Regions from separate parts of the Homo sapiens genome. Here region 2 is linked to region 1. The links are contacts of gene promoters, found by promoter capture Hi-C in human tissues and cell types (Jung and others, 2019). All regions are on one chromosome and are shown on one strand. The core of a region is centred on a gene start or on the middle of the fragment in contact, and the rest is flanking DNA. Distances in the headings are between cores, read along the strand shown. Region 1 holds the start of PDE6C (phosphodiesterase 6C). Region 2 has its middle 35 kb from the start of PLCE1.

Region 1 (6,527 bases), core at 2,982-5,481:
GCAGGAGAATGGCTCTAACTTGGGAGGCAGAGGTTGCAGTGAGCCGAGATCAAGCCATTGCACTCCAGCCTTGTGACAGAGCGAGACTCCGTCTCAAAAAAAAAAAAAAAAAAAAGTCTTCCTGCCTTCAACTTGTTTTAAAACAGGCAATAATCATTGACCATTTTTTGGCCAACCATATCCAGCTCCTAAACGCCTACTGGCATAATGACAATATTATCACAGCTATCATTTATTGAGCATCTACTATGAGTCAGGTCCTTTATATACATTTAATCTGTACATTTGCTTATCTCCATTTCTTAGGGGTAGAAACTCCATCACACAGTTACTACGTCACAGACATGGATCTTCACCCAGGTCTGTCTGATGCCACAGCCCTCTCCCTATACTAGTGGCTTCCCTGTTACCTTCATGGACCCTCCAAGGTTGGGAGTATGTAGTTCTGTACCTTTGTCTAGGTGTGAGAAGTCTTTCCCTCACCTGCGCCCACACTGCTAGCCAGAGGAAAGTTGTGTGTGGTCAGGGATATGGTAGAAAGAGGGAGGCCTCCAAGACCTGAGTTATTGCCCCAGATCTGCCACTTCCTGTCTACCTAACTTTGAACGATTCCTACTACACAGGCTGGAAATAAAAATATGACCCTTGTCAGAGAATGTTGTTTAAATTGTCAAGTGCAATGAAAAGAGGAAGAATTAATCAGATATTTCATTTGAAACATTGGTTTCTACTTCCTTTCCCGTTGCAAATCTTACTGCAGCGGCTAAAGCAAGTGAAACTGCAGGGGTGTAAGGTAGGCAAACAGCACTGGACACATACTCAGCCACCTCCGTTCCAACCCTCCTCATCCACAGACACACACCATGGACCCGGGGGATATACAACTCCTATGGCCTCAACTTCCTGTCCTCCATAGGACAGAGTTGGGCTAAAGACTTCATAAGCCCCTTCCATCTCTAATATTCCACAGCTGATTTGAAATTCACTTCCTCCTCCTGTATCTGCTTACCCAAGAGACCAGTGGTTTTCAACATTGGCTGCATATTAGAAGTAGCTGGGGGAGCTTTTTAAAAATACCAATGCCTGGGCCGGGCGCAGTGGCTCACGCCTGTAATCCCAGCACTTTGAAAGTCCGAGACAGGTGGATCACCTGAGGTCAGGAGTTCAGTACCAGCCTGGCCAACATGGTGAAACCCCGTTTCTACTAAAAATACAAAAATTAGCCAGGCATAGTGGCGCACCTCTGTAGTCCCAGCTACTCAGGATGCTGAGGCAGGATAATTGCTTGAACCCGGGAGGCAGAGGTTGCAGTGAGCCAAGATAGCGCCATCGCACTCCAGCCTGGGTGATGGAGCAAGACTGTCTCAAAAATAAATAAATAATAAAATAAAAATACTAATGCCTGAATTCTAATCTTTGAGAGTCCGCTGTAACAATAAAGCCACCAATATGGTTTTGTGGATTGTGTTTATTTTTTGAGACAGGGTTTCATTCTGTCACCCAGGCTGGAGTGCAGTGTGTGAACACAGCTCACTGCAGCCTTGGCCTCCCAGACTCAGGCCATCCTCCCATCTCAACCTTCCAAGTAGCTGGGACTCCAGGCACACACCACCATGCCTGGCTTATTTTTGTATTTTTGGTAGAGACGGGGGTTTCCCATGTTGGCCAGCCTGGTCTCGAACTCCTGGGCTTAAGCCATCCACCCGCCGTGGCCTCCCAAAATGCTGGGATTACAGGCGTGAGCCACTGCACACAGCTTAATATGGTTTTAATGTACAGCCAGAGTTGGAATCCCCACTCTAGAGAGAAAAAAATGTGAAGAAGCAGTTGAAATGAAGAACCAATGAGGTCTCTTTCTCGTGAGCACAGAACCGTATCTGTCTTCAACACACATTTCTCTGTGTCCCACCCAGAACAGCCAGGAGTCCTCCAGAGAAGAGAGGAGAGACTCCCCACTCCCAGATGAAGTGCTCCGTCCATGCCGTGATGCTCACCATGGACAGCCGCAGACCAAAACCACCTCCAAGCAGCTCCATGCTCTTATTTCCTTCTCACCACAGAGAACTGGGCTAATCAAAGTATAACAGCAGAAATCATTTTACCCATCTCTTCTTTAAAAGCCTTTCAAAAAATTGCTGAATGTCACTTTTTCAAGTTTGATGTGCTAGCAGGGATGGGCTCAGTTGGGGACCCTCAAGGAGCGTATTCCCATGAGAAAAACCTCAGGATGTGCAGACATTGCCTTCCAGTTGGTTGTCTAGAGAACTTTGCCCTAAGGATGAGCATCCATTTAGACACTTGAAGCAGCTGCAGTCAGGCTCAAAAGCAAACTTAACCCAGCTTAAACTTACTGAAAGGAGGAATTATTCAGGACTGAAGCCCTACCAGGCCCCATGGTAACCCTTGCACCTGAGCGGTGTTCTGTGGTTGTTTGCAGAGAGTCACTCGTGTTTGATGACTTCCACACCTCTTGGGTCCGTGTGACCCTCCCCCTATAATCAGCTTCAGGAGGCATTTAGGAGATTATCCTCCTGCCTCTCCAGCTGCCCTATACACCCCTGCACAGAAAGCATTTCACAAGTTGTTCCCATTCAACTCTGTTCCATCATAATCCACTTTTCCCTTTTTGTTAATGGTAAACTGTAATAATGGACCACATGTGTAGAGAAGGAGCTGCCAGGAGAATCTCCAAGCTGGTACCCTTGATTATTGCTGAGGGGAGGGATGATGGGTGATTAGCATTTCCTCCTCTGGTTTATTTGTATCTTATAATTGTTTAAAAATGAACATGTACTCTAATGGTAAGAATAAAGTTTTTCTATTTCTATAAGGGGCATCTCAATGCCTTGTATTTGTGCAGTATGCTGTTGGTCTTCAAGAGGGTCCAAATGTCCCACTTACTTGATTGGAATTCATTCTTGAAAGATCTGGGTTATGGAGCAGTGGGAGTGGTCAATTGCACTTAACCATCACCTAAATTCACATATGTAATGAATTCCAAATTTGAACATCTGAACTTTCAAATGGCATCATTTTTTCTCTTTGCACATTTGGTCGATAGATGAAAGAATTGATTTACTAGCAAATCCATCCAAAAAACCTGAATGTTTTCGAAGGACTGTGAATGAGAGGCATGGGGAGCAGTTCACAAGTCTTGGCATCTGGGCACGTTGGCCCATCTCCCTAGTGGGGTAGTTTGTTTTGCTGGTGTTGCTGAGAAGGAAAGTCCCCCAGAGCACTGGAGGAGGCGTAAGGGAGGGTGTGTGGAATGCACCAGGGCCAGGTAGGATCACCTGATAAAATGCCAAACTTTACATGGGACATACTTATACTTCAGAAAATAATAATTCATTGTTTATCTGAAATTCAAGTTCAACTGGGCAACTTGAAATTTCATTTGCTAAATTTGGCAACACTAGGCCTGGGTGATCCTCTTCCCTGCCACCCACATTCCCCCGGTTATTGCCAAACTAATGCCACAAGGATAGCACTATCTCTCTTTCCCATTTGTTCCTCCCTGACCCTGCCAAGACCTCTGCCCCACTGTCATAAGGCCACCTACCTTTTTCACATCTGGGACATTATGAGTTTTCTTCGTGTGAGCAGCCCAACCCACTATCCCAATGTCCAATGGAAACACAACTTCTTTGTCAGGGCCCACCAGGTTGTCCTCAAACTTGGAGGTGGGGGTGACATCCAGCAACCTAGAGGCCACCTCAGGTATGCCGTTCCGGGACCGGCACAGGAACATGCTGCAGCGGTCAGCCTGGAGCAGGTGGGCCAGCCTCTGCAGGGCCCTGTGAACCCCCTGCTCTGGGGTGCCCCCCTCCTCCTGCACGGTCCACAGCAGCTCCAAGCACAGGGCTGACTCCTCCACCTGGGTCAGCTCAGAGAAGGACATGCTGGACTGGACTGGCACCTGGCTGTTCTTGAAGATTTCTCCCAGCACCTCCACCCGCAACTTCCTGTCAAAGTACTCCTTGGCAAACTGAGGGTTCTCCTCCAGGTATTTCTCCACGGCAACTTGGTTGATCTCACCCATGGTGTGGCTTGCTTTGCTGCGTTTGTTCAGAAAGGACGACCTTCAGAGCACTACCTGAGGCAGAGTGATGAGAAGGAAATTCATCCTGGTGGAAATTACTGAGGAAACCGTAAATGGTCCCTCATAGGACTTCCAAAGGTCAAGCAGAAAGCAGAGCTTTCAAACTGCCTGTAACTCTTGGGATGTGACAGAAGGCCCTGGCTTAGGGTGGGATTCAGGAAGCACAGGATTAAAGAGTTCTTCAGGACACTAAATCCCTGAGCATTAGTAGCTCATAAGTCCCTAGCGAATCTTCAGAGTATCTTAGATCAGCCCAGCAAGTAGCAAGCTGAGGTGTCTATTCCAGAAAAATAACTGAATGTCGGCTGCTGTCCACAGCAAGGAAGAATCACTGACATATCCATGAATGACACGACATTGGCAACAATTGGCACTTTGAATCGTTCTTGTATGATAGCTATAGGAAGTAAAACTATTTAGACCTCGGAAGTGCTTGGATTTTTTTTGTTTATATAGCAACTGTAATGAACATCTGGGAGATATGGAACAGTTTGCATCACTGCAACATAAAGGTGAATATTAATCTTTCCTTTTCTTAAAAGTCTTTTGATCACCAAGGTTGCTTGGCCTCCTCTTTCTCTAGAACCTTCACCTCTCAATCCCTGTCACTTCAGAAAGCTTGACCTCAGAAGTGTTTTAAAGGAGTAAACCTCAAGCTTATTACTAAAGAGGTGAACATAGCAAAATATTTGCCAATGATCCAAACCTAATCAAGTCATGAATTGAATAATAACCCTTGTCGAGAGACTGTAATTACAAAAGGTAACCTACATAGTTGCTGGCTGGGTTTTTCTGCTAAGTATCTTAGTTAGGATTTTGTTTTCAATAGTAATAGCCAGAGGTCATGCGATTTTGCTACAACATACAGTCTACTAAATCTACTAGATGATAGATATCTTGTCTGTTGCTAGGATCCTTAACGTCTCAGGGGCTACTGGCATAGAAAGAACACTTACCACTACTTAGTTTTGTTTAATGTTCACTTTACTAAGCTTTTACATCTATTAAACACATTTCCTCAAATATTTAAACACTATTATGCAACTAATAATTCAAACTATTAATTCATGAACCAATTGCCTTCGATACTTAAATGTTGGTTTCAAACTTAGTCAAGGTGTTTTAAACACTTCAATAAAGCTACAAACCTAATATGACAAATTCTCTTAAGTGGAAAACACACACATGTTACAGTGACTCTAAAAATTATTGTTACACCCACATTTAAGTTTGCTTCAAAAATAGAAACCCTATGAGTTTCATTGAGTTCTCTAAGATTTACCTCTCTAGATAGTAATCTTTTTCTTTTTTTTTTTTTTTTTTTTTGAGACTGAGTCTCGCTCTATTGCCAGGCTGGAGTGCAGTGGTGCGATCTCAGCTCACTGCAACCTCCGTCTCCTAGGTTCAAGTGATTCTCCTGCCTCAGCCTCCCGAGTAGCTGGGACTACAGGTGGGTGCCACCACGCCCAGCTAATTTTTGTATTTTTGGTAGAGATGGGGTTTCACCATGTTGGCCAGGCTAGTCTTGAACTCCCAACCTCAGGTGATCCACCTGTGTCAGCCTGAGAGATAGTAATCTTAATAGTCACAAAAGAAAGAGAGATCCGTTGAGGTTGCACATTCCCTGTCATGAATTGAGAGATTCTTGGTGGGAAACATGGTTTTCCCAGGGGTACAGAAAGAGTCATTTGTTGAGTTATGCCACTTCTTGTGATTGAGCTTCACCTGCTACCTCAAAGCACCTTGTCAGGTGCACATATTTTCTTGGACTGTCCTATGTCACACTCAACTCTACTCTCAGGAGGTTCCTCTTTGGGTGACTATTTACTTCATAACACCCTGTTATTATAAATAGGATAATGCAGAAGTGTATTTCCCAGGAGAGAGTTGAGTCAACTGAGTCACCCCTCCTATGGGACCATCTTCCTTATCTAACAATTTTGGACACTCTTTTTTACCTAGTTATTTTGTGTGACTCATGGTACAGTTCCTACTTCTCCTGTAAGTATGTGGTGTGCTCACGATTTCCTGGTTTCATCCTTCCCTCTTGAAACAGAGAGGGAAAAACACATATTTGCATTTCATATACAGACTTATACTTAATAGAAAAAGAAAAAACAAAATGCCCATATATGTTCAACTTTCATAATCTTTTTTTTTTTTTTTTTGAGACAGAGTCTTGCTCTATTGCCCAGGCTAGAGTGCAGTGGTGCGATCTCGGCTCACTGCAACCTCTGCCTCCTGGGTTCATGCCATTCTCCTGCCTCAGCCTCCCGAGTAGCTGGGACTACAGGCTCCTGCCACCATGCCCGGCTAATTTTTTGTATTTTTAGTAGAGACGGGGTTTCACTGTGTTAGCCAGGATGATCTTGATCTCCTGACCTCGTGATCCACCCGCCTCGGCCTCCCAAAGTGCTGGGATTAC
Region 2 (6,527 bases), core at 2,729-5,228, 350 kb before region 1:
CTCCTATTCGTTCTGTCCCTCTAAGAGAACCCTGACTAATACAGCAGGCATTTCATCCATTCAGAAATATTCACTGGGCATCTCCTGTGTGCCAGGTACAGTGTAAGGTGCTGCAGGTAAATAGCATTATAGTGCTTGCTGAATGAACAGTCTCTGATATAGTTTTGATATTCCCCCCCCCAAATATCACATCAAAATATGATCCCCAATGTTGGAGGTGGGGCCTTATCAGACTGGCAACCATCACCACCAGTCAGAGGCTTATTAGACTGGCAATTCTCAAACTCTATACCAGAGAAAAACGGGAACTTTTTAAAAGCACAGATTGTAGGGCCCTCACCCCAGACTTAAATAAAAATTGGGGGGACTGGAGCACATGAGTTTGGATTAAATTACAAGTGCCCCAGATGATTCTGATGTATGGGATCCACTACTCAGAAAAGAAATCCTGGCCGGGTTGGGCGATTAACAGGCGGTGGCTAGGGAGGACGGAGAGGGGGCGTTTGCTCCTCTGGGACTTTTCATGCCTCGTTTTTTTTTTCAGATGTGGCTTGGTCTGGACGCAAGGTCCCAGCAGCCAGCTTAAGCTTACTCTTCTGTGAAAGGGGAAAGTATCCCCTGTGGAAAGCAGTTAAACTTGTGGAGGGGGTGCGAGACGTGAGTTCTCCCCCATGCCAGGCGAATGGTGTGGACTTGAGCTGGTCCAGCAGCCGGCTCGACTTGTCTGAGGGAGCCCTGGAGGGGGCGGGGAGGGGGCCCACAGAACGTGGGTTCTATAAAGAGACATTGGGAAGATTCGATTCCGAGAAGAGGAAGAGCCGGATTGAAAGAGAGCCAGGCCCTTGAGGGGGAGGGGGCTGCCAAGATGGCGTCGGCCTCCTCCGGGCCGTTGTCTTCGGTCGGTTTTTCTCCGTTGATCCCGCGGTCCCTTCCTGTACCTCGTCCTCAGCATCTGGAATCAAGAGTCCCATGGCATCTGAGGTGCCTTATGCCTCTGGCATGCCCATCAAGAAAATAGGCCATAGAAGTGTTGATTCCTCAGGAGGGACAACCTCATCAGCCTTGAAAGGTGCCATCCAGTTAGGCATTACCCACACTGTGGGGAGCCTGAGTACCAAACCAGAGAGTGATGTCCTCATGCAAGATTTCCACATGGTGGAGAGTATCTTCTTTCCCAGTGAAGGGAGCAACCTGACCCCTGCTCATCACTACAATGCCTTTCGTTTCAAGACCTATGCACCTGTTGCCTTCCGCTACTTCTGGGAGCTATTTGGTATCCGGCCCGATGATTACTTGTATTCCCTCTGCAGTGAGCCGCTGATTGAACTCTGTAGCTCTGGAGCTAGTGGTTCCCTGTTCTATGTGTCCAGCGACGATGAGTTCATTGTTAAGACAGTCCGACATAAAGAAGCGGAGTTTCTGCAGAAGCTGCTTCCAGGATACTACATAAACCTCAACCAGAACCCTCGGACTTTGCTGCCTAAATTCTATGGACTGTACTGTGTGCAGACAGGTGGCAAGAACATTCGGATTGTGGTGATGAACAATCTTTTACCAAGATCGGTAAAAATGCATATCAAATATGACCTCAAAGGCTCAACCTACAGGCGGCGGGCTTCCCAGAAAGAGCGAGAGAAGCCTCTTCCCACATTTAAAGACCTAGACTTCTTACAAGACATCCCTGATGGTCTTTTTTTGGATGCTGACGTGCACAACGCTCTCTGTAAGACCCTGCAGCGTGACTGTTTGGTGCTGCAGAGCTTCAAGATAATGGATTATAGCCTCTTGATGTCAATCCATAATATAGATCATGCACAACGAGAGCCCTTAAGCAGCGAAACACAATACTCAGTTGATACTCGAAGACCAGCCCCCCAAAAGGCTCTGTATTCCACAGCCATGGAATCCATCCAGGGAGAGGCTCGACGGGGTGGCACCATGGAGACCGATGACCATATGGGTGGCATCCCTGCCCGGAATAGTAAAGGGGAAAGGCTTCTGCTTTATATTGGCATCATTGACATTCTACAGTCTTACAGGTTTGTTAAGAAGTTGGAGCACTCTTGGAAAGCCCTGATACATGACGGAGACACTGTCTCAGTGCATCGCCCAGGCTTCTATGCTGAATGGTTCCAGCGCTTCATGTGCAACACGGTATTTAAGAAGATTCCCTTGAAGCCTTCTCCTTCCAAAAAACTTCGGTCTGGCTCATCTTTCTCTCAGCGAGCAGGCTCCAGTGGCAACTCCTGCATTACTTACCAGCCATTGGTCTCTGGGGAACACAAGGCACAAGTGACAACAAAGGCGGAAGTGGAGCCAGGTGTTCACCTTGGTTGTCCTGATGTTTTACCTCAGACTCCACCTTTGGAGGAAATCAGTGAGGGCTCACCTACTCCTGACCCCAGTTTCTCACCTCTAGTTGAAGAGACTTTGCAAATGCTAACTACAAGTGTGGACAACAGTGAGTATATGGGGAATGGAGACTTCTTACCCACCCGGCTGCAGGCCCAGCAGGATGCTGTCAACACAGTTTGTCATTCAAAGACCCGCAGCAACCCTGAGAACAACGTGGGCCTTATCACACTGGATAATGACTGTGAAGTGCTGACCACACTCACCCCAGACACTGGCCGTATCCTGTCCAAGCTACATACTGTCCAACCCAAGGGCAAGATCACCTTCTGCATGGGCATCCACGTGGCCCATCTGGCTCTGAAGCACCGACAAGGCAACAATCACAAGATCCGCATCATTGCCTTTGTGGGAAACCCGGTGGAGGACAATGAGAAGAATCTGGTGAAACTGGCTAAATGCCTCAAGAAGGAGAAAGTAAATGTTGACATTATCAATTTTGGGGAAGAGGAGGTGAACACAGAAAAGCTGACAGCCTTTGTAAACACGTTGAATGGCAAAGATGGAACCGGTTCTCATCTGGTGACAGTGCCTCCTGGGCCCAGTTTGGCTGATGCTCTCATCAGTTTTCCGATTTTGGCTGGTGAAGGTGGTGCCATGATGGGTCTTGGTGCCAGTGACTTTGAATTTGGAGTAGATCCCAGTGCTGATCCTGAGCTGGCCTTGGTCCTTCGTGTATTTATGGAAGAGCAGCGGCAGCGGCAGGAGGAGGAGGCCCGGCAGGCAGCTGCAGCTTCTGCTGCTGAGGCCGGGATTGCTACGACTGGGACTGAAGACTCAGACGATGCCCTGCTGAAGATGACCATCAGCCAGCAAGAGTTTGGCCACACTGGGCTTCCTGACCTAAGCAGTATGACTGAGGAAGAGAAGATTGTTTGTGCCATGCAGATGTCCCTGCAGGGAGCAGAGTTTGGCCTGGCAGAATCAGCAGACATTGATGCCAGCTCAGCCATGGACACATCTGAGCCAGCCAAGGAGGAGGATGATTACGACGTGATGCAAGACCCTGAGTTCCTTCAGAGTGTCCTAGAGAACCTCCCAGGTGTGGATCCCAACAATGAAGCCATTCGAAATGCTGTGGGCTCCCTGGCCTCCCAGGCCACCAAGGACAGCAAGAAGGACAAGAAGGAGGAAGACAAGAAGTGAGACTGGAGGGAAAGGGTAGCTGAGCCTGCTCAGGGGACTGCATGGGAAGCACGGAATATAGGGTTAGATGTGTGTTATCTGTAATCATTATAGCCTAAATAAAGCTTGGCAAGATTTTTTCCTTCTTTGCTTCAAAAAAAAAAGAAAGAAAGAAAGAAAGAAAGAAAGAAAGAAAGAAAGAAAGAAAGAAAGAAAGAAAGAAAAGAAAAGAAAAGAAAAGAAATCCTGATGCCTAAATCTGACCCCTTGAAATGCTGATGAGCTTCATCTGAGCTGTGTGATCTCTCATGTGCAGCTAAGGTTGAGAACCACTAACATAAAATAATTCACATTAAAATCACCAGGAAGCTTTAATAACATTTCAAATACTTGGACCCAACCCCTAAAGATTCTAATTTAATTGGCCTGGGACTCAGGTACTGATATTTTTCAAAAGCTCACAAGGTAATTCTGAAATTCAGCAAAAGTTGAGAACCACTATTCAGACTAAGTGACTTGTCCAATGTCTCTGGGTGCATCAGACTTTACGGCCTTCCTTACACAGGGGTTGTGAATGAAATATGGCTATGGAAAGCAATTGTTGAGTAATATGTTATAAAGTATGGTGGTGATGATGATGATGACAATGATGACAATATTTCTTGAGTGCGTCCTATGCACCAGGCACTATGCTAAGCATTTTATGAGCTTAATCTTATTGAATCTTCAACATTAGCCTGCTGGTATTATTTTCCCTTTTCCTTGATTATAATATGTCATCAGTTGAGGATGACAATTTAATAACAGTTATTAGAGGCTGTTGCTTGTTAATAGGAAAATATTTATTCAGTCCTCCAGAGACAAAGATTTGCTTTGATCAGAATAAATGTAAATTTTGATTTATTTAACATGAAATGCAAATAAACATGTGTGCTGCTATCAATGCAAATCACTCATCCCATGTGATATCAAATAAGCAGATACCTTCTATGTAGCCCTCCAAGTTCACCTACATTCACAAATGTTACTTATATCTCATACTGGGGTATCCATACTGGGCCTGGAAGCTGGCAAGTTTATTTAGACACATTCCATTTCAGGAATAATAAAATGCAGGGAAAATGTGTATCTTTGAGTCACAGAATCATGGTATTATTCTTATTTTCAGGTGAGACTTTAAAAGATTAAGTGACTTGCCTATAGTCCCAGGGTTCATTCTACAGCCAAGCCAGAAATAACAACCCAGTGCCCCTGATGCTGGAATTCTCCAGAAGCTCCTCTACTGACATAGTTTCCACTGACAAACTTTCCTTGACAAGAATAAAGTAGTCTGTCAGAACAAAATTTTGCCAGCTCTGTCTACTGCCAGCACTTGGAAATAGGAGTCCCATGGGGTTTGCAAACAAATGAAAGCAGTGGTGGGCTTGCAAGACCTCACCAGTCCTTAGAGTTCAGTTGATATGTCTCTCAATACAATGCAGGAACTAATTTTAAAGCATTTTGAAACAAGCACAATAACTGAAAATTCTGAGTTCAACAAGAAACAAATGCATTTAATCTTTGAAGAAAAATCAAGTCAATTAAGAAATGAAAATAGGTTGAGACTAGACGAATAAGAATGGAAATGATCGATTGGAGAAGTTTTCAGCCTTGAACAGGCCATTACCAAGTGGTCAGTATGACCACATTTATCTGATATTATTTGGTCCTTTTCTTTCTTTTAAAAGTACTATTTAGTTATAAGAATCTTAAATGCTGGCTGGTGCAGTGGCTCATGCCTGTAATCTCAGCACTTAGGGAGACTGAGGCTGGAGGATCGCTTGAGCTCAGGAGTTTGAAACCAACCTGGGCAACATGGTGAGACCTTATCTCTACCAAAAGTAAAAAAAAATAGTTGGACATCGTGGCATGAGCCTGTAGTCCCAGCTACTTGGGAGGCTGAGGTGGGAGGATCACTTGAGCCTGGCAGATGGAGGCTGTGGTGAACTGTGATCTTGCCAAGACCGTGTCTCAAAAAAAAGAAAGAAAGAAAGAAAGAAAGAAAGAAAGAAAGAAAGAAAGAAAGAAAGAAAGAAAGAAAGAAAGAAAAGAAAAAAGAAAATTAAACACCACTTTTTAAAAAAAAGCAACAAAGAAAATTTGGACATTAAGAGAATAAACATTCCCATTAATCCCATCTCCACTCTCCTAAGAGATCATCAGTTTAGTGCCTGCTTTTCCAAAAATATATGTCAAAAATGATTTCTCTTTCTTAAAGAGAAAGTATATATCTATAGTCTTAACTTTCCTTTTTTTTCCAACTATATAAATATAGTGGCCACCATACATTATTTTAAGCAGAAGGTAAATTAAACGATCCACTGCGAACACTTTGGATTTCTTTTGTAGCTCCCAATGTTTGTTTGGCAAGATAGAAATGCCCTTAAATGCAGCCTTATTGTCCCAGCTTTAGTAAAATTCTATTTATAAATCAAATCCAAAGTAACCAGAGACGTTGGCATAATCTTTGGTATTCTCTGCCGGTACAGAGAAATCTCAATTTGTGGTTTCCAACATTTGTAAGGTGGTAAATAGCAACCTCCCTCCACTGTTCCTCCCACCTCAAGTCAGCAGGGTGCTGGTAAACTGGCTTGGGTGGGAGTGAGGGGAACCCCTGGTGTGTCGTATTTACTGACTTCCATTGGGTAAATGCTCCATGATTGGCTCACAAAATTTCCTAATATTTAACAATTGGTGTTGAACTGTTCTAACACATCAGTGTCAAGCCATTCGATGACCAATTATGGCACATATATGACCCTTTTATCTTGATATAACACTCATGCAGGCTTATTTCATACATGTAGTCACTGCACCTACAAGAAACGTATAACAGAATGAATGACCCAAAGCCAACAACTGTGGGGAAAAGTGAATTAGACAACATCTCTCTCATATTTCTCTATTTATGAGAGGAAATTCTAGCATATAACCTCCAAGTATGATGAAGT

Evidence for each region. The method cuts DNA at HindIII sites, captures the fragments that hold promoters and counts their contacts. A contact is called where the count stands out against the background at its distance.
Region 2: a fragment that was not itself captured here is called in contact with the fragment with the promoter of PDE6C in region 1 in 2 of the 25 tissues and cell types used here (mesenchymal stem cells and thymus).

Annotation. Positions count from the first base shown.
Region 1 is chr10:93,610,241-93,616,767 of GRCh38, reverse strand. PDE6C (phosphodiesterase 6C) reads right to left here and starts at 4,231. Exons shown (of 22, transcript NM_006204.4): 1 at 3,563-4,231. The coding sequence starts at 4,042. The HindIII fragment of the contact is 13,972 bases long and covers 1-4,926 here.
Region 2 is chr10:93,955,839-93,962,365 of GRCh38, reverse strand. It overlaps the pseudogene PIPSL. Among named protein-coding and RNA genes, the nearest start is that of PLCE1, 35 kb to the left of the region's middle. The HindIII fragment of the contact is 3,706 bases long and covers 2,126-5,831 here.